4 separate regions of the Homo sapiens genome follow, and regions 1, 3 and 4 are each linked to region 2. Evidence: promoter capture Hi-C in 16 types of primary human blood cells and fetal thymus (Javierre and others, 2016). All regions are on one chromosome and are shown on one strand. The core of a region is centred on a gene start or on the middle of the fragment in contact, and the rest is flanking DNA. Distances in the headings are between cores, read along the strand shown.

Evidence for each region. Contacts are between HindIII fragments. The CHiCAGO score rates a contact against its expected background, and 5 or more counts as called.
Region 1: a fragment that was not itself captured here is called in contact with the fragment with the promoter of GTSF1L in region 2 in 2 of 17 cell types (non-activated CD4 T cells and M2 macrophages); the score reaches 7.2 in non-activated CD4 T cells.
Region 3: a fragment that was not itself captured here is called in contact with the fragment with the promoter of GTSF1L in region 2 in 1 of 17 cell types (endothelial precursors); the score reaches 5.1 in endothelial precursors.
Region 4: a contact is called between a fragment that was not itself captured here and the fragment with the promoter of GTSF1L in region 2, in 2 of 17 cell types (non-activated CD4 T cells and activated CD4 T cells). The highest score is 7.2, in non-activated CD4 T cells.

Annotation. Positions count from the first base shown.
Region 1 is chr20:44,094,356-44,099,333 of GRCh38, reverse strand. No RefSeq gene overlaps it. Among named protein-coding and RNA genes, the nearest start is that of JPH2, 90 kb to the left of the region's middle. The HindIII fragment of the contact is 2,061 bases long and covers 685-2,745 here.
Region 2 is chr20:43,724,588-43,729,130 of GRCh38, reverse strand. It overlaps GTSF1L (gametocyte specific factor 1 like), which reads left to right and starts at 2,129. Exons shown (of 1, transcript NM_176791.4): 1 at 2,129-2,967. The coding sequence starts at 2,437. The coding sequence ends at 2,883. It overlaps LOC101927200 (a long non-coding RNA gene), which reads right to left and starts at 212. Exons shown (of 4, transcript XR_936741.3): 1 at 4-212. The HindIII fragment of the contact is 9,111 bases long and covers 1-4,543 here.
Region 3 is chr20:44,077,653-44,082,721 of GRCh38, reverse strand. No RefSeq gene overlaps it. Among named protein-coding and RNA genes, the nearest start is that of JPH2, 110 kb to the left of the region's middle. The HindIII fragment of the contact is 6,228 bases long and covers 1-5,015 here.
Region 4 is chr20:44,059,629-44,064,718 of GRCh38, reverse strand. The region is part of intron 5 of TOX2 (TOX high mobility group box family member 2); the gene reads right to left. Among named protein-coding and RNA genes, the nearest start is that of JPH2, 130 kb to the left of the region's middle. The HindIII fragment of the contact is 7,560 bases long and covers 1-5,049 here.

The sequences.
Region 1 (4,978 bases), core at 466-2,965, 370 kb before region 2:
CCAAAGTACTGGGGTTAAAGGCATGAGCCACCATGCCCAGCTGGTTTTTACTGTTTTAAATGGTTAGGGTGGGAAACAAAGGAAGACTAGTTCATGATGTGAAAAATCATGTAAAATTCACATTTCAGTGTTATGAATAAAGTTCTATTGGCCCACAGCTATGCTCATTTAATGATGTATTTTCAACCTTCATATTGACAGATTGAACTGAGGCAGGAGAATAGGGTTTGGACCAGGCAACTTAAGGCCAATGTGTGCTGACTTCCTAAGGCTGGATCAAAAGGGAAACACTTGGGTCTGGGGGCAGGGACTCTAAGACCAATTAACACCCACTTCCAAAAGCTAAGCCAAAAGGAAAAACTCCATCTTGCCATGCTGGGATAACAAAGAATCAAAGGTTACTCTCCATACAACCTTCCACCATGTCTCAGATGGAAAGGAAAGTGCCTTGGATTGGCTGTGGGCCAAGTGCTAGCCATCCCCCCATCTGCGTAGGGTGCCGATCCACTCCGTCTCCAGATGACTGCGGACCAATTCACTTCAGCTTTAATTAGCCATGGGCCAAATCCTTCATCCAGATAAAGAATGGACATCTTCAGCGGTGCCATTATTCTTCCTACCACACTCTCTTCCACAATCTTGATGGAGTAACTCCAACTCTAGAGCTAGCAGGAAAGTGAAGCTTAGAAGGTGTATTTGATTTTGTTTTTAATCAGCCCTATCCAGTGTAAGGTACATGTGTGAGGAACAAATTCATGCGTTCGAACTCAAGAATGGACTTAGAGACCCAGAGAATAGTGAAAGTGAGACTTTTAATGACGGTCTTGCAAGACTGGGTGTCTAATGAGCAGGCACACCCAGCGCAGTCACAACAAGCAATTCATCCTCTAGTGCACAGGTCTCTCCACCGGTTCCTCAAAGGCTGAGTACTGTGGGGTCACACTCTTCCCGGACTTTGCCTAGTGATGGTGGGTAGGGGCTTTAGGTGTTCTTTTTTAGGGTTGTCTTGTGGCATTTTGTTGCAGCCCACAATGTATTGCAATCCTAGTTAGCTCAGGGGCTTTTTAAGCATTTGTCTTATGACCTAATGACCTAAGTAGCTGGGCAGGCCGATAAGAACTGACAAAGTGAGCTATTTTGCAGGCTAGTAAACTTTCATTTTAGACTAAATGTCTTTGGTTTGAGTGAGGGCAACTAAGCAAGGGAGGAAGGGGAGAAGGGAGAGGCCGACAAGCAGGCATCGGCTATCCAAGCAGGGGCCTAGTATATCTTGTTTCTTCTGTAGTTTGCTGACCTAAGCCAATTCAAGGCACTTTATCTTGGAAATGGACCACTGTATACATTATTTCCTTCACATGGATGTGCTTTGGTCAAGGAATAGGCCGAGGCAGACATCCAGGCCTGCATGACTCAGCAGGGTTGGGGTGCAGGCTCACACCTCCACTTGTTATATAACTGTTTGTGTAAGTTCATACTTGGCTCTACGCCACTATTGTCTGTAAAAGGTATGACTGCCCTGCTGACACTGCACGGGGCTCTGGGGACATGGCTGGGCTTGGCTCTTGGGCATGGCTTGACGTGGTTGGGTGCGCTGGTGCCCAGAGGAAGAGAGAGCCAAAGCTGTCCGTCTTGCAGGTGGGCAGTGGGGAGCCCGGAACCAGCTTGTGCCCAGAGAAAGAGTTAAGCTGCTGACCCTGAAGGCAAGGGAGAGCCGGCAGCACAGCGGTGTATGGGAGCAGCCCACTCAAGCAGCTAAAACAGGGCGGACGGTGTGAGAAAACTACTGATGAGAGAAGAGTGTGTAAGAGCTGTTGATGAGAGAGCTGCTGAATAAAACTACATTTCACCTGCCTATGGCACCCGCCCAGTGTTTTTCACCTATCTGCCCATCCGCCCACTCCCCTTGGACCTCAGTATGGGCCCGAACCTGACCCCAAGCAGGACATTTGGCGTAGTTGTGGACCTGACATCCGGCTCCTGTCCTGTTCCCCAAATCTCCAGGATCCAAAGCCTAGATGATCCTTTATTTTCTATAAAGCAAGACATGAGTTTGGTACTCATTTTTGTAGCCGATAGGGCCCTCAAAAGGAGTCGTTAAAACCCAGAAAACTTCGTAACCAGGCCCGTGAGCTGCTTGCTTGGGCCCACTCCCACCTGTGGAGCGCTTTCCACTTTAATAAATCTCGCTTTCGGAGAATGGCGTGAGCCCAGGAGGCAGAGGTTGCAGTGAGCCAAGATCACACCACTGCACTCCAGCCTGGGCGACAGAGTGAGACTCTGTCTCAAAAATAAATAAATGAATAAAATAAAATATCATTCCCTGCTTTCACTGCTTTGTTGCTTTGTTTCATTCGTTTGTCACTTTGTGTGTTTTGTCCAATTCTTTGTTCAAAACACTGAGGACCCGGACAACTCACACTCAAGGCCCTCCATCTGGTAACAGAATAGTTGTGATAGATACCATGTGGCCCGCAAAGCCTAAAATATTTCCTTTCTGTCCCTTACAGAAAAGGTTTGCCAGTCCCTGGTATAGATAATTCAAAAGCATCCACTGAGCAGACTCCCTCAGGGAGCCCAGGAAGTCCTTGGTCTTAAGGCCTGGTGGAGACATGAGCTTTTGCCATCGCATGTTTTGTTTTATAGGAAATAAAGGATCATCTAGGCTTTGAGCCCTGGAGATTTGGGGAACAGGACAGGAGCTGGATAGGGATGATTAAAAACAAAATCAAATGCCCTTTCTAAGCTTCACTAACCTGCTAGCTCTAGAATTGGAGTTACTCCATCAAGATTGTGGAAAAGAGGGTGCTGTCCTGGTGATAGTGAGTGAGTTATCAGAAGATCTGATTGTTTAAAGGTGTGTGGCACCCCCCTCCCTCCCACTCCACCTCCCTCTCTTTCTCCTGCTGTCACCATGTAACAGACTGCTTCCCTTCATCTTCCGCCATGAGTAAAAGCCCCCTCAAAGCCTCCCCAGAAGCTGGATAGATGCTGATGCCATCTTTGAAACTGTAAACCTATAGAACCATGAGCCAATTAAACCTCTTTTCTTGTAAATTACCCAGTCTCAGGTGTTCCTTTATAGCAAGGCAAGAATGGCCTAATACAATGTCCACGTCCTAGTCCCCAGCACCTGTGAGCATGTTACCTTGCATGGCAAAAGGGAATTGACTAAAGTTGCTATCATCTGTCCTTGAGTTGGGGCGAGTAGCCTGGATTATCCAGGTGGATCCAATCTAATCACACGGCTCCTTAAGAGCAGACAACCAGTGGCAGCTGCGGTCGGAGAAAGGGATGTGGTGATGGAAGTAGGGTCACCTACACACTATGTTGCCGGCTTTGAAGATGGAGGAAGGGGGTCTCTGGAGGCTGGAAGAGGCCAGGAAGCAGATACCCTCCTACAGCTTCCTGAAAGGCACACGGCCCTGCTGACACCTTAATCTCAGCCCAGTGAGACCCTTGCTGGACTCTGGCCCACAAAACTATGAGATAATAAGGTAAGGTAAGACATTTGTGTTGTTTTAATCCACTACGTTTTGGTAATTTTTAATACCAGGAAATTTAATAGTAAAATAGTAGAAAATGAATACAGAGGGTGAGCTGGGTCCACCTCTTGAAATCACTATCTTGCCAGATTTTCTCATGTCTCTGATATCATTTTTGGTTGTCTAAATATATTTAGGATCATGTTATGTTTTAGAGCTAGAAAAAAAACCTCAGCGTGTCTTGTGAATGTCCTATTTTATGCTTGAAAATAAAATATTTGAATCTAATTAACTTCATCTTGTTTATCACTGATGGACAGAGACTCAAATTTAACTGTTATTCCCAGTCTGGAGTGATTTGCATCATACGATCAGTCTCTCTCCAAAAGCATTGTATAAAGAGGATGTATGTTTATTTTATTTTTGTTTTATTTTATTTATTTTTTTTTGAGATGGAGTTTCACTCTGTTGCCCAGGCTAGAGTGCAGTGGCACCATCGCGGCTCACTGCAACATCCGCCCCTGAGTTCAGGTGATTCTCTTGCCTCACCCTCCCGAGTAGCTGGGATTACAGGCGCCTGCCACCATGCCCAGCTAATTTTTGTGTTTTTAGTGGAGATGGGGTTTCACCATGTTGGCCAGGCTGGTCTTGAACTCCTGACCTCAAGTGATCTGCCTGCCTTGGCCTCCCAAAGTGCTGGGATTATAGGCATGAGCCACCATGCCTAACCAAGGGGATGTATGTTTATTGTGCATAATCCCTGCATGAGCAAACTTGATAAATGTAGACTTCATTTTAGCAATTTTTTGAAAGTCAAAATAATACAGATTGTGTAAAGGTTATGTCAATTATTAAATTTTTAGTTTATTTCCACTTATGTAGGCATCTATTTTTGTGATGTGACTTTGGAGTACTTCCTCTCTTTAATCTGTTGCATATTATTGGGTAAGCTATTCAACCTCTTCACCAAATCATGAAATCTGCTTGGAACATTTGTAATAACAGATTTTAAGGAGCAGTTTTGCATTTTCTATTTATTTCAGTCATAACAAAAACATTGTAACAGATTTTTCTTCTACGTGCAGAAACATGGACAAATTATACAAACATAATGCTGGGTGAAACTAGACAGACCTAAGAGACTCCGTCATGATATCACTTACATAATGTTCAAAAACATTCGTAATCTATTGTGTTAGAAGTTGCTTGGGGGATGGAGGGATATTGGGAAGTGGCGCAGTGGGAATTTTTAGGATGCTGGCAATGTCCTATTTTTGATCCAGGTGTTGGTTTCATGAGTATATTCACTTTGTAATAGGTTTGTCAGCTGTCTCAAGACGTGTGCATTTTCTGGATGTATGTTTTATTGAAATTAAAAGCTTTATTATGAATAAAAACATACCAGAATCACTGGGGGACACAGCCAATACAGTGCTTAGCTAAGAACTCCTACCATTGAATAGGTATAGCAATAAATATATTACAAAGAAAAAAGT
Region 2 (4,543 bases), core at 880-3,379:
TACTTTGAACCATGAAACAGTAGCGGAAGTGATGTTTATCATTTCCTGGTGGAAGCTCGCGCATGACTCCCCACATCCTCTTCCTTCTTCTAGAAGGAAGCAAGTGTTGCTATGGAGGCTCCATCAGCCTGGCTCCATTAACCACAAGGAGCAGATCCCCAATACCCCTCCCCAACCCAGAAACCTGCTTTAGACTTGAAAGTGACTCATAAGCCTTCGTTGTTTTAAGCTACTGAAGTTTTGGCACTGTACGTTATTGCAGCCTAACCTTGCCTATCCTGACTGGCACACCCAGAATAAATGGTGTAGTTATGAAAGATGCCTTTTTTTAGAATCCTTTGTCTAATCTTTTGTCTATACCTGGGTTCCCATTACAATTTCTTACTATGACATCAGTGAGTGTCATGTTGCTAAATTGTCTGCATGTCATATGATAGTAACAAGACATCCCACATGTATGATCAGTTGCAATTATGTAACAATGTAGACAAAGCCAATCACTTCAATTCTCAAAAAAGGCTGAACACCATAGCTAGGATGTGGAGAGATGGAAAAAGTGTCATTTACAATGACAAAAAAAAAAGAAAAAGAAAAAACCATAAAGCATCATAGATTAATTTTTTTTTAACGTGCAAAAAATAGAAAGAAAACTACAAAGCCTACCTGAAAAGACACCATCAATAGAGCTTAGTAAATACCAGGAAACACACACACACACATACACACACACACACTCACACACACACCTTCCCCAAGGTCACATGGCTGGTAAGTGGCAGGAGGTAGAATTTGAATACAGTCAGCTTCCTTAACCACCACCAAGAATAGGATGGGTGAGCTTTTTCTATAATGGGCCAGACAGAAAACATTAGAGGTTTCTAGGTCATCTGGATTCTGTTGCAACTACTCAAATCTAGCTCAAAAGCAGCCAATGGACAATATATAAACAAATGGGTGTGGCTGTGCTTCAATAAAACTTTATTTACAAAAGCAGATAGCCATCTGGATTTGAATCATGGGCCCATAGTTTGTTGACACATGATCTAGAATAACAAATCCTTGAAGATAGTCAAGGCTTTTGGGGGGAAAACTAATAACAAGCAGAGACTTGCTCTATCAGATATCAGCACATAAAGCTACAAAAATTATTTGGAATTGCATTATATTTATGTATCAATTTAGGATGACTATGTAATTTATGTAATTTAGTTTACAGAGAATATTCATTTATGATTTTGAGTCTTCCTATTCAGGAATATGGTATTTCTCTACTGTCACTCAGATCTTGAGAAACAATTTAACAGGGTGGGGGGTGGGAAGGAGCTCCAGGCCAATTTTTAGAAGAAATCCTACCTAACACCAGACATGTAAATAGAATGTCAGAGGACCAAAACCACTAACACCCTGAGATATGTGTCAATTGCGTCCATTCAGACTTTGGTCCAGTTCTGTGAGGGACAACGGCAGGGTCGACCTAAGATGGGGCGTTTTATAGGAAATGTTTCCCATGTTAAGCTGAACACCAAAAGGCTTCACCTTCTGCGATATATGAATAGATTTAAACCCTTCCCCCACACCCAAGGAGACTAGGCTGCTGTGGGCCTCAGCAGAGCAGAAGGGTAAAGAAAGACGGCCCTGAGAATCACATCCAAAAACCAGCCCTGGCAAAGCGCAGGGGCTCACACCTATCATCCCAGCACTTTGGGGGGCTGAGGCGGGTGGATCACCTGAGGTCAGGAGTTCAAGACCAGCCTGGCCAACATGGTGAAACCCGTCTCTACTAAAAATACAAAAAATTAGCCGGGCATGATGGCAGGTGCCTGTAATCCCAGCTACTCGGGAGCCTGAGGCAGGAGAATCACTTGAACCTGGGAGGCGGAGATTGCAGTGGGCCAAGATCGCACCACTGTACTCCAGCCTGGCAACAGAGCGAGACTCTGTCTCAAATAAAACAAAAACAAAAACAAAAAACAAATACGTACAGTTAAAAGACTTAAGTCACAACATACATCCATGAGCAATTTTAGATGGCAGCATTCCCAAAGCCATCCACCCCTCCCAAGCAGTGCACAATAGCCTCTTCCTGATGACTTAGGCTGCCCATTGTGACCACCGGTGACTGCAGCTTGACATCATAGTATATCCGTGAGTCAAGCGGCTGTGGGTTTTTGGCTCTTGCATCTGCTATAGTTCTGTCTCGGGTGCCATTTGCTAACTCTGTTCTCTGTGTAGCTGCTTTTGGCAGCTCCTCATCTCTCTTCTAATCCACCACTCACAGTCCTAGAGAACAGACCACAAGTTAAGACCGTCACCTACAGAATCCCAAGGGCCAAAACTGGGCAGAGGACAACTCCATCCTTCTTACAAAAGGGCTTCTCCACAAGAAGCATTTCCGTTAGACTCTAGCAGTGAGATACCCTGCTTCAAGAATTTCTCATGGAGCCAGAAGCCTTTGAAATTTGCCCTTATGATCCTCACCACCGAATCCCACTCAGCAGATTCCAGTACCACCTGGCATCGTGCAGGAGAAAGAACCCCAAGAAAGCCAAAAAGATGGCCACCTGCAAATACAACGCCTGCCACGTGGTCCCCATCAAAAATCTGGAGGAACATGAGGCTGTTTGTGTCAACAGGAGCGCTGTGGAAGAAGAGGACACCGAGAACCCTCTGAAAGTCAGTCCTCCTAGTTCAGAGCAGAACGATGACACCCAGCAGGTCTCACCCTGCCTTCCCAGCCCCGATATCTGGAATGTCGATGGCGCTAATTGCCAGCATGTGTTTGTCCTTAAGACTTTTTTTCCTCAAAAGGTTGTTTGTGAAAATGACACGAAAGAGTCAGCAAGAGAGACCAGTCCCCAGAAGATCCTCAGACCAGGACAGTAAACTGCCAGCTGAGGAAGGAGCACACGCCTCATCAATGCATGGAAGAACGTGCAATGCATCAGAATAAAAGACATGCAAAGTAAACTACCCTGGGCTACCTCTTTTTTTAACCTGGCAGATTGATAAATATCAAAAGGCTTAAAATACTCTGCTGGCAAAGGTAGGGCAAAATGGGCACTTTCATAACATTGGTGAGAATGTCAGTTGGTACAACCTCCACAGAGGGCAATTTGACAATAGCTATAAACATTATCAATGCATACAGGCTTTGATTGAGCAATTCCACTTCCAGGCTTCATTCTGTAAATATAATCACACATGTGGAAAATGAGCTAAGTACTAGCTTATTCACTGCAGCATTATTTGCAGCAGCAAAAGAGTTAGAAATGAGCCAGGTGTGTTGAATCACAGCTGTAGCCTGTTACTCTGGGAGCTGAGGCGAGAGGATCGCTTGAGTTCAGCCTGGGCAACATAGTGAGATCCTGTCTTAAGCAACAAAAAAAAAAGTCAAAAATGACCTAAATATCCATTAAAAGGGCCTGATTAAAAATAAGTTATACTGCAGCCATACAACAAAATATTATGCCGCCTTAAAAAAAGTGAGGAAGCTCTTTCTGTGCTGATATAGAAAGGTTGAGACACACTGTTGAGCTCAGAGGTCAGCAAACTGTTTCTGTAAAAGGCCAGATGGCAAATATCTTAGCCTTTGTCAGCCACACAGTCTGTGTTGCAACTACTCGGCCCTGCCACTGCAACACGAGAGCAGCCACATATAATATGTAAACAAATGAACAGAGGTTCCAATAAAATGCCTTACAGCCACAGGTGGCAGGCTGGACTTGACTGGTGGGCCATGGTTTGCCAACCCCCAGTTTAACTGATAAAAACCAAGTCCAGGCCGGGCCCGGTGGCTCATGCCTGTAATCCCAGCACTTTGGGAGCCGGAGGCGGGCCAATCACCTGAGGTGTGGAGTTCGAGGCCAGCCTGGCCAACATGGCAAAACCCCATCTCTACTAAAAATACAAAATTTAGCCGGGCGTGTGGTGGGCACCTGTAATCCCAGCTACTCAAGAGGCTGAGGCAGGAGAATAGCTTGAACCCGGGAGCAGAGGCTGCAGTTAGCCGAGATCACGCCATTGCAATCCAGCCTGGGTGACAGAGCGAGACTTTGTCTCAAAAAAAAAAAAGGAAAAAGAAAAGAAAAAACAAAAACAAGTCCAGAGCAGTCTATACAGTATGCCACCATTTGGGGAGAGTTGCGGGAGAAGACATGAATATGTATGTGCTTGTTTTTGCATAAAATTTCTCTTTAAGGATACTCTAGAATGGAGATCTGTCCACAAAGCCTGAAATTTTTCAACCTGTTGCCTAATAGAAAAATTTGCTTGCCTCTTCACTAGAAACTGATATTGTCTGCCTCCAGGGAAGACAAGAGAGAGCCCTTCTTTACTATTGACTCTTTAGAATCTTTTACATGGGAATATATATGAATATGTTATCTGGTCAAAAATTAAACTATATTTTTTTAAACAGCAGGTAGAAGACTTAAGTCCTTTGAAAGTTTTTCAGGAGGAAATCTTAACTGTTAAGTTTTTTTTTTGTTTTTTTGTTGAGACAGAGTCCTCGCTCTGTCGCCCAGGCTGGTGTGCAGTGGCGCAA
Region 3 (5,069 bases), core at 652-3,151, 350 kb before region 2:
AGTTGAAGACCAGCCTAACCAACATGGTGAAACCCCATGTCTACTAAAAATACAAAAATTAGCCAGGTGTGGTGGTGCATGCCTGTAATCCCTGCTACTCGGGAGGCTGAGGCAGGAGAATCCCTTGACCCCAGGAGGTGGAGGTTGCAGTGAGCCAACATCACGCCACTACGTTCCAGCCTGGGCAACAGAGCAAGACGCAACCCTCCATCTCAAAAACAAGAAAACAAAACCACATCAACTGTACATCAATCTAAAATGTGGGCATTTTAGAGGCTGTAAATTATACCTCAATTTAAAATGAAAAAAAAAATTAAGATCTTTTAAAAGCAAACATTAGCCAGGTCCTAGCTTTCCCAAGCCAAATGTCTGTCCATCTGTCAGTTATGACCAGTCACACATTTGGCCAGTGACATTTGTCAGGGTGGGTCAGAGTGTCAGTTTGATAATTCATGCTCATGTGATCAATCTGACAGTAGGGTAATGGGCTGGATCTTGGTCAGCAGCAGCCTCTTGGATTTGGAGGTGGAAGGGATGGCTTCCCATTGGGTAAACATTGCACCATGGTGAAGGGTCAGGCATTGGTCTGCCTGGTTCCCACCCAGGCTCCCCCGCTGTCAAGCTCTGTGACCTTCGGCAACTCACTCACCCTTCTGAGCCTCAGTTTTCTCATCTGTGAAATGTGAACAATCATTGCATCTATCACATGGGGTTGGCGAGATGATGAAATGAGCCAATGGGTCTGCAGTGCCCAGCAGAGGCCCCAGCACACGTGCTCTGGCAGTGGGATCTGTTATTCCTGTTTTTATTTCTCCATCTGGCGGCAGGAAAGGATACAAGTGGAGGCACCTTTCCTGTGTTTCCAGGCAGATGCTGCCGCTGTTTGCTGGAAGAAGAGCTCAGGACCTGGGGAGGAGGGGCAGGGCTGAGGAGGCCTGGGTGCGGGGAGCTTCCCCAGAGGGCCGTGGGAGAGGGGACCCTGCAGTCTGAGGTCAGGCCTGGCCTCTGGTTCTCTACCTCCTGGGGACAACTCAGCCAGCTTGAAGGCAGGGTCTCCCATCACAGGCAGGCAGGAAGCCAGCTCTGTAGGCCAGCAATGGCAAGTGGGCAGAAGGCTGTGACTGGGGCAGGGGTCCCAAACGGAGGTAATGACAGCACAAAGTGTCCCCCAGTCCCCTCCTCCTGTCAGGGAGGGGAGCAGCTGATAAACTCATGCTCATGTGGGTATTTGGAACTAATACAGTCACCCTTCTGGGGGAACTTCCGGTTTAAAAGAGAAGTCTGGATAGAGCAATGCATAACTCAAAGGAATATTTTGCTCCAGTGAATTTCAGGTGATACAGCAGATCTATTTTTCTGGTCAGGGGCTCCGGTCCAGAGTAACCCCTTCTCATTGCCACCCAATAAAAGAAAAAATAAGTAACAACTGGGGACCCACCTGTTTCACCTTCTCACAAGAGAGAAGGATGTTGGCAGTGTGGTGCTGCGGTGTTCTGAGTTCTGACATCATGCCAGGATCATCCTAGGATCGTAGCACTTAGTATGCAGTAAAGCCCTTAAAAGTGATATCATATTGTCTTGTTAAGTTGTCAGAGCCACTCCGTGGGGTTGTAGGTGTAGGGCAGTTGAATATGGAGGCTAAGCATGGAGGTGAATGACCTGTGTCACCTACTCGCAGATGGCAGAACTGGAGTCAAACCCATTGTCTGACCGTAAATTAGCCCTCTTGGCTCCTAATCATTCTGTTAGGCCTGCTACACTGCTCTGCAGTTCCTAATTATGACCACCAGGAGGCACCACCACTCCACACGTGAGTACTCTCCGCACTGTTCCTGAGAAGTGAAGGCTTAGAATCACGTCACTACTTTCTTATTTACCACAGTAATATTAATAGCTACTATTAACTTAGCACTTGCTATGTGTCAGGACTGCACTAAGCACTACATGCTTTATTTCATATATTTCTCACACATCTCTAACATTTGGACCAGACTGTTTCACAGAAACAGTGAAATTCAAAATCAGGTCTGTGTCTTCAAAGCCTGTCCTCTTAACCATATATCCTCAGTGGAGATCACCAACTAGATGCTTGGAGGCTGCATTTGGTCAGCAAACTTGGTTTTGTTGGTTGGTTTGTGTTTGGTTGGTTTTTTTTTGTTTTGTTTTGTTTTTTGGCTGGGATGGTGTTCCAACACGCATTGAATTTAAATGCTTTTTGGCAGGGCAGTCCCTCTCCACTTAGCCCCAGTCCTCATCACTCTCTCTCATATGTCCGTCCCTCTGTCTCCTTCCTTTGCTTATGTTATCTGCCTGACCCTGACGTCACTGGAATTTGCAGCTTGTGGTTGTGAGTTCGTCGACTCCCTTTATACTAATAATATATTGTAGATGGGAGTCAAGGGATTCCAGGGCAGCTTGGAGGTTTAGGAAGGCACCCAGGAAATGTAACAAATGGTGTGGCCAAGAGTCACTGTGGAGATGCGGGAGGCAGTCCTGTCCTTCAGTGTCCTCCCAGGACCTATCAGTAAGTGTCCCTTGTGCTGTGTCAGCATAGCGTGCATGGCACCTGCAAAGACCTGTGGATTTCCTGGGCTGGACGGTGGTGAGCTGGAGGTGGAGCATGCCGCGTTTCGACTTTGCAATACCCTCCCAGAAGAGTGACCTGGCTACTGTGCACTCACACAGAATCCTTCCTGATTTGCGTCTGTTTCCTTTCACCTGGCCCATGAACCAGTGGTTAGATTTAACCAGCACCGTGGGGTTTCTAATCATTATTGAGCACCCCATCTACAGGGACTGAACTGTGTTCCCCCAAACTCACATGTTGAAGTTCGAACCCCCGGTGCCTCAGAATATGACTGTATTTGGAGACGGGGCCTTTAAAGAGGTGATTACGTTAAAAATGAGGCCATTAGGATGGGCCCTAATTCAACCTACCAGGTGTTCTCAAAGAAGACGAGACTCAGACATGCAGAGAGACCCCAGAGGTGGACAGGCGCAGAGGGATGGCCATGTGAGGACACAGAAGGTGGTCATCTAGAGAGGCCTCAGAAGAAACAAAGCCTGCTAGCACCTTGACCTTTGACTCCCAGTCTCCAGAACAGTGAGAAAATTAATTTCTGTTGTTTAAACCATTTCTGTTGTTATGGCAGCCCAGGCTGACTAATATGCTGTCCATCAAAGGTGGGCGGAGTTGAGGATGTAAGTGTGGTCAACAGCCGGCCTCGCAGGGCACTGTAGCTCATGCATGTGATCCCAGCACTTTGGGAGGCCGAGACGGGAGGATCGCTTGAGCTCAGGAGTTCAAGACCAGCCTGGCCAACATAGTGAGACCCTGTCTCTACAAAAATTAGCCAGGTGTGGTGATACGTGTCTGTAGTCTCCGCTACTCGGGAGGCTTAGGTGTGGAGATCGCTGGAGCCCAGGAGGTTGCAGCTGCAGTGAGCTGAGATGGCGTCACTGCACTCCAGCCTGGGTAACAGAGTAAGACCCTGTCTCAAAAAAAAAAAAATAAAAATAAAAAGCCAGCCTGACAGGGGAGGAGGAAGGAGCTTGGAGACCACCCTCCTACTCCCCACTCCCCTGTGGAAGACACGTGTGTGGAGGAATTAATGAATGTGCTTCGTTTGTTACACTCTTACTATTAGTGATGAAAACCACTTCTTCATAGATGAGAGCATAAAGAAGCCAAATTCTTGGTTTCTAAATTCAAAAAGATGGTCTAGGAGTAAGAGGAAGCTGGAAGGGGAGATGCAGTCTGGCTCTCTTCAGATTGGAAGGGTCCACCTACCACCCGCAAAGCCAGGGAAGACCCACCTAAATCCCTGTGAGATTTCAAGACATGGTGGATGAAGAGAAAATCTAAAAGTTACCAGAGAAGGGGGCAAAAAGTAAGCAGTATACAAAGAAATGGGAGGCAGAATAATATTCAACGCTCAACAGCAGCAAGGCTGGAAATGAGAAGTCAATGAAGCCGTGCCTTCAAAATTCAGAGAGAAAGTTATTTTCAGCCTAGATGTCTTTACCCAGCCAAACCACCAATCAAGTGTGAGGGTAAGATGAAAACATTTGCAGAACTGCACCTTTATTTCTCATCCATCCTTTCTTAGAAAGGGCCTGGAAGATGTGTTCCACCACAATGAAGAAGCAAGATAGGAAGGAGGAATGGATGGAATCCTGCAAAGAGAGGACCCATGATAGAGAAAAGCAAGGGGATTTGCTAAGTAATAAAAGGAAGCATCTGATGATGGCTGGAATCTGCCTGAGAAAGAGATCAAATTGGAGCACAAAGTGTCTGGCCATAATCAGAAGGGGTTTACAGCTCTGAGCTTTGGGGGAAAATGAGTGACAGGGAGGAAAATTAAGCACACGAAAAACAAAAATGAAAAATTATTCAAGGAAAAAAATATGTAGCTTGACCCATCAGCAAACATGAGTTACAGAATAGGAATAATGTAAGCCTGGAATATTGATTAACCACCATGATTATGTAGTTCACTGGGAGGACACAGGGGGAAGCAAGATGGAGGAGGAGCACTAAATCCTCTTTTTCCATGAAAAGAAGTGACTAAAAGGCATTTAAAAATCGGCTAGGCTCACGCCTGTAGTCCTAGCACTTTGGGAGGCCGAGGTGGGCGGATCACAAGGTCAGGAGATTGAGACCATCCTGGCTAAAGCTGTGAAACCCGTCTCTACTAAAAATACTAAAAATTAGCCAGCCGTGGTGGCGCATGCCTGTAGTCCCAGCTACTTGGGAGGCTGAGGCAGGAGAATTGCTTGAACCCGGGAGGCGGAGGTTGCAGTGAGCCAAGATTGCACCATTGCACTCCAGCCTGGGTGACAGAGTGAGACTCCATCTCAGAAAAAAGAAAAAAAATCTATAAATCAAGAAATAGCAGTGTGTGCATATTCAGTTGTTAAATAACAAAAAGAGTTGAGAATATTTATCCCTAGGTGGTGAGAATCAGAGATTGAAGGAGGGAAGAGCAGAGGACACCCTGACATCATTATAAGCTTCATGGTCTGGTTTGACTTTTGTTTTTTGTTTTTGTTTGAGACGGAGTTTTGCT
Region 4 (5,090 bases), core at 20-2,519, 340 kb before region 2:
AGGGTCCTGGGGTGGGAAGGCATGGATTCAAGGATCACGAATGGACGAGGGTGGTGGGGTCAGAAGCTGAGTCAGCCAGCCACTGGCCCCTTTCTGGGAGCGCTGCAGAGAAATTGTGGAGACCAGGCCATATCCCAGTTCCTCAGCCAAGTCACTGTGTGGCCTTGGCCAACATGCTTCATCTCTCTGGGCCTCCAGGTTCTATCAGCACAACTGATCACAGAAAGACAATGCCCTTTGAAGCCCCCATTCTGAGCCAGCACAGTGCAGATTTCTTAATGCCGAACCACCTTCGCAACCTAGAATGAACCTACTTGTTCATAGTATGTTAGTTTGGATTCGGTTTGCTAATATTTTTTATTAAAAATTTTAGACCTAGGTTCATATGTTATTGTAGGACTGGTCCCAGTTTGTTCGCACCTCCTTGTTTCCATGGCTTTTGGTAGAAACGAGGAGGTGCAAATGACTTGGAGCTTAGCCTTGTGTGACTTGTGTTGGCCAATAAGACAAGCACAAATGTGATGCATGCAGAGACTGACAAAGTGATCACATATTGGTGAGCCCTCTTGCTACTCTTGGAACTCTTATTTAAAAATTTTTTTTGTATATGAATAAGTTCTTTAATGGTGATTTCTGAGATGTTGGTGAACCTACCACCTGAGCAGTGTACACTGTACCTGATGATAGTCTTTTATCCTTCACTACCATCCTTTTCCCCAAGTCCCCAAAGTCCATTGTATCATTCTTATGCCTTTGTGTCCTCATAGCTTAGTTCCCACTTATGAGAACATACAATGTTTGGTTTTCCATTCCTGAGTTACTTCACTTAGAATAATTGTCTCCAATTCCATCCAGGTTGCTGCAAATGCCATTATTTCCTTCCTTTTTATGGCTGAGTAGTATTTCATGGTGTTTGTGTGTGTGTGTGTGTACATATATATGTATATGTGTGTGTGTGTACATATATATGTGTGTATATATATGTAGCACATTTTCTTTACTCATTGATTGATGGGCATTTGGGCTGGTTCCATATTTTTGCAATTGCAAATTGGGCTGCTACAAACATGTGCAAGTATCTTTTTTGTAAAATTTCTTCTCCTCTGGGTGGATACCAAGCAGTGGGATTGCTGGGTCAAACAGTAGATCTACTTTTAGTTCTTTGGGGAATTTCCACACTGTTTTTCACAGTGGATGTACTAGTTTATATTCCCACCAACAGTGTAAAAGTGTTCCCTTTTTGCCACATCCATGCCAACATCTATTTTTTGATTATGGACATTCTTGCAGGAGTAAGGTGGTTTTGATTTGCATTTCCCTGATCATAATGATGTTAAGTATTTTTTAATATGTTTGTTGGCCATTTGTATATTTTCTTTTGAGAATTCTCTATTCATCTCCTTAGCCCAATTTTTGATGGGATTGTTTTTTTCTTGCTGATTTGAGTTCCTTTGTAGATTCTGGATATTAGTCCTTTGTCGAAAGTATAGATTGTGAAGATTTTCTCCCACTCTGTGGGTTGTCTGTTTACCCTGCTGGTTCTTTTGCTGTGCAGCTTTTTAGTTTAATTAAGTCCCATCTATTTACCTTTGTTTTTGTTGCATTTGCTTTTGGGTTCTTGGTCATGAAGTCTTTGCCTAAGCCAATGTCTGTGGAAGGGTTTTTCCAGTGTTATCTTCTAGAATTTTTAGGGTTTCAGGTCTTAGATTTAAGTCTTCCATCCATTTTGAGTTGATTTTTGTATAAGGTGAGAGATGAGGATCCAGTTTCACTCTTCTACATGTGGCTTGCCAATTATCCAAGCACCATTTGTTGAATAAGGTGTCCTTTCCCCACTTCATGTTATTGTTTGCTTTGTTAAAGATCAGTTGGTTGTAAGGATTTGGCTTTATATCTGGGTTCTCTAATCTTTTCCATGGTCTATATGCCTATTTTTATACCAGTACCATGCTGTTTTGGTGACTATGGCCATATAGTTTGAAGTCGGGTAATGTGATGCCTCCAGATTTGTTCTTTTTGCTTAGTCATGCTTTGGCTATGAGGGCTCTTTTTTGATTCCACATGAATTTTAGGATTGTTTTTTCTAGTTCTGTGAAGAATGTTGGTGGTGTTTTGATGGGAATTGCATTTAATTTATAGATTGCTTTTGGCAGTATGGTCATTTTCACACTATTGATTCTACCCATCCATGAGCATGGGATGTGTTTCCATTTGTTTCATCTACGATTTCTTTCAGCAGTGTTTTGTAGTTTTCCTTGTAGAGGTCTTCCACCTCCTTGGTTAGGTATATTCCTAAGTATTTTATTTATTCATTTATTTATTTATTTATTTATTTATTTATTTATTTATTTTGCAGTTAAAGGGGGTTGAGTTCTTGATGTGATTCTCAGCTTGGTCACTGTTGGTGTATAGCAGATCTATTGATTTGTGTACATTAATTTTGTATCTTGAAACTTTGCTGAATTCATTTACCAGTTCTAGGAGCTTTTTGGATGAGTCTTTAGGGTTTTCTAGGTATATGATAATCCCATCAGCAAACAGTGACAGTTTGACTTCCTCTTTACTGATTTGGTGCCCTTTATTTCTTTCTCTTGTCTGATTGCTCTGGCCAGGACTTCCAGTACTGCATCGAATAAATGGGCATCCTTGTCTTGTTCTAGTTCTCAGGGGGAATGCTTTCAACTTTTCCCCATTCAGTGTAATGTTGGCTCTGGATTTATCATAGATGGCTTTTATTACCTTAAGGTATGTCCCTTCTATGCCGATTTTGCTGAGGGTTTTAATCAAAGGGATGCTCAATTTTGTCAAATGCTTTTTCTGTGTCTATTGAGATGATCATGTGGTTTTAAATTCTGTTTATGTGGTATATCACATTTATTGACTCGTGTATGTTAAACCATCCCTGCATCCATGGTATGAAACCCACTTGATCATGGTGGATTATCTTTCTGATACAACATTGGATTCAGTTAGCTAGTATTGTACTGAGGATTTTTGCATTCATGTTCATCTAGGTATACAATCATATCATCAGCAAACAGCAACACTTTGACTTCCTCTTTACAGATTTGGATGCTCTTTCTTTCTCTTGTCTGATTGCTCTGGCTAGGAATTCCAGTACTCTGTTGAATAGAAGTGGTAAGAGTGGGCATCCTTGTCTTGTTCCAGTTCTCAAGGGGAATGCTTTCAATTTTTCCCCATTCACTATAATGTTGGCTCTGGTTTATCATAGATGGCTTTTATTACCTTGAAGTATATCCCTTCTATGCTGATTTTGGGCATAGAAGGAATACTGGCCTGCAGTTTTCGTTTTTTTGTTGTTGTTATGTCCTTTCCTGGTTTGGGTATTAGGGTGATTGACTGGCTTCATAGAATAATTTAGGAAGGATTCCCTCTTTATTTTGTGGAATAGTGTCCTTTAAAAGTCTGATAGAATTCAGCTCTGAATCTATCTGGTCCTGGCCTTTTTTTGTTGGTAACTTTTTAATTACCATTTCAATCTCACTGCTTGTTATTGGTCTGGTTTAATCTAGGAGGGTTGTATATTTCCAGGAATTTATCCATCTCCTCTAGGTTTTCTAGTTTATGTACATAAAGGTGTTCATAGTAGTCTTAAATGATCTTTTGTATTTCTGTGGTATCGGTTGTAATATCTCATGTTTTGTTTCTAATTGAGCTTATTTGGATCTTCTCTCTTCTTTTCTTGGTTAATCTCACTAATGGTCTATCAGTTTTATTTATCTTTTCAAAGAACCAGCTTTTTGTTTATCTTTTGTATTTTTTGGTTTCAATTTCATTTAGTTCTGCTCTGATCTTGGTCATTTTTTTCTTCTGCTGCGTTTGAGTTTGGTGTGTTCTCTCTCTTTAGTTCCTTGAGGCGTGACCTTACATTGTCTATTTGTGCTCTTTCAGACTTTTTGATGTAGGCATTTAATGCTATGACCTTTCCTCTTAGCACCACTTTTGCTGTATCCTAGAGGTTTTGATAGGTTATGTCACTATTATCGTTCAGTTCAAATAATTTTATAATATCCATCTTGATTTCATTGTTGACCCAACAATCATTCAGGAGCAGGTTATTTAACTATTTCCATATATTTGCATTGTTTTGAGGGTTCCTTTTGGAGTTGATTTCCAGTTTTATTCCACTATGTTCTGAGAGAGTACTTGATATAATTTCTATTATTTTCTTAAATTTGTTGAGACTTGTTTTATGGCCTATTGTATGGTCTATCTTGGAGAACGTTCCATGTGCTGATGAACAGAATGTATATTCTGCAGTTGTTGGGTAGAATGTTCTATAAATATCTGTTAAGTCCATTTGTTGCAGGGTAAGTTTAAGTTCATTGTTTCTTTGTTGACTTTGTCTTGATGACCTGTCTAGTGCTGTCAGTGGAGTATTGAAGTTTCCCGCTATTGTTGTTTTACTGTCTATCTTTCTCATTTCTTAGGTCTAGTAGTAATTATTTTTTTAAATTTGGGAGCTCCAATGTTAGATGCATATAAATTTAGGATCGTGATATTTTCCTGTTGGACTAGTTTTATTATATAATGTCCCTCTTTGTCTTTTTCAACTGCCGTTGCTTTAAAGTTTGTTTGGTCTGATATAAGAATAGCTATTCCTGCTCACTTTTGGTATCCATTTGCATGGAGTATCTTTTTCCACCCCTTTACCTAAAGGTTATGTGTGTCCTTATGTGTCAGGTGAGTCTCTTGAAGACAGCAGATACTCAGTTGGTCAATTATTCATTCTGCCATTCTGTATTTTTAAGTGGAGCATTTAGGCCATTTACATTCAGTGCTAGTATTGAGATGTGAGGTACTATTCTATTCGTTGTGCTATTTGTTGCCCAAATACCTTGTGGTTTTTAAAAAATTGTGTTATTATTTTAGAGGTCCTGTGAGATTTATGCTTTAAGGAGATTCCATTTTTGTGTATTTCAAAAATTTGTTTCAAGATTGAGCTCCTTTTAGTAGTTCTTGCAGTGCTGGCTTGGCAGTGGCAAATTCTCTCAGCATTGCTTTGAAAAAAAGAACTGTAATGAAGCTTAGTTTTGCTGGATACAAAATTCTTGGCTAATCGTTTAAGG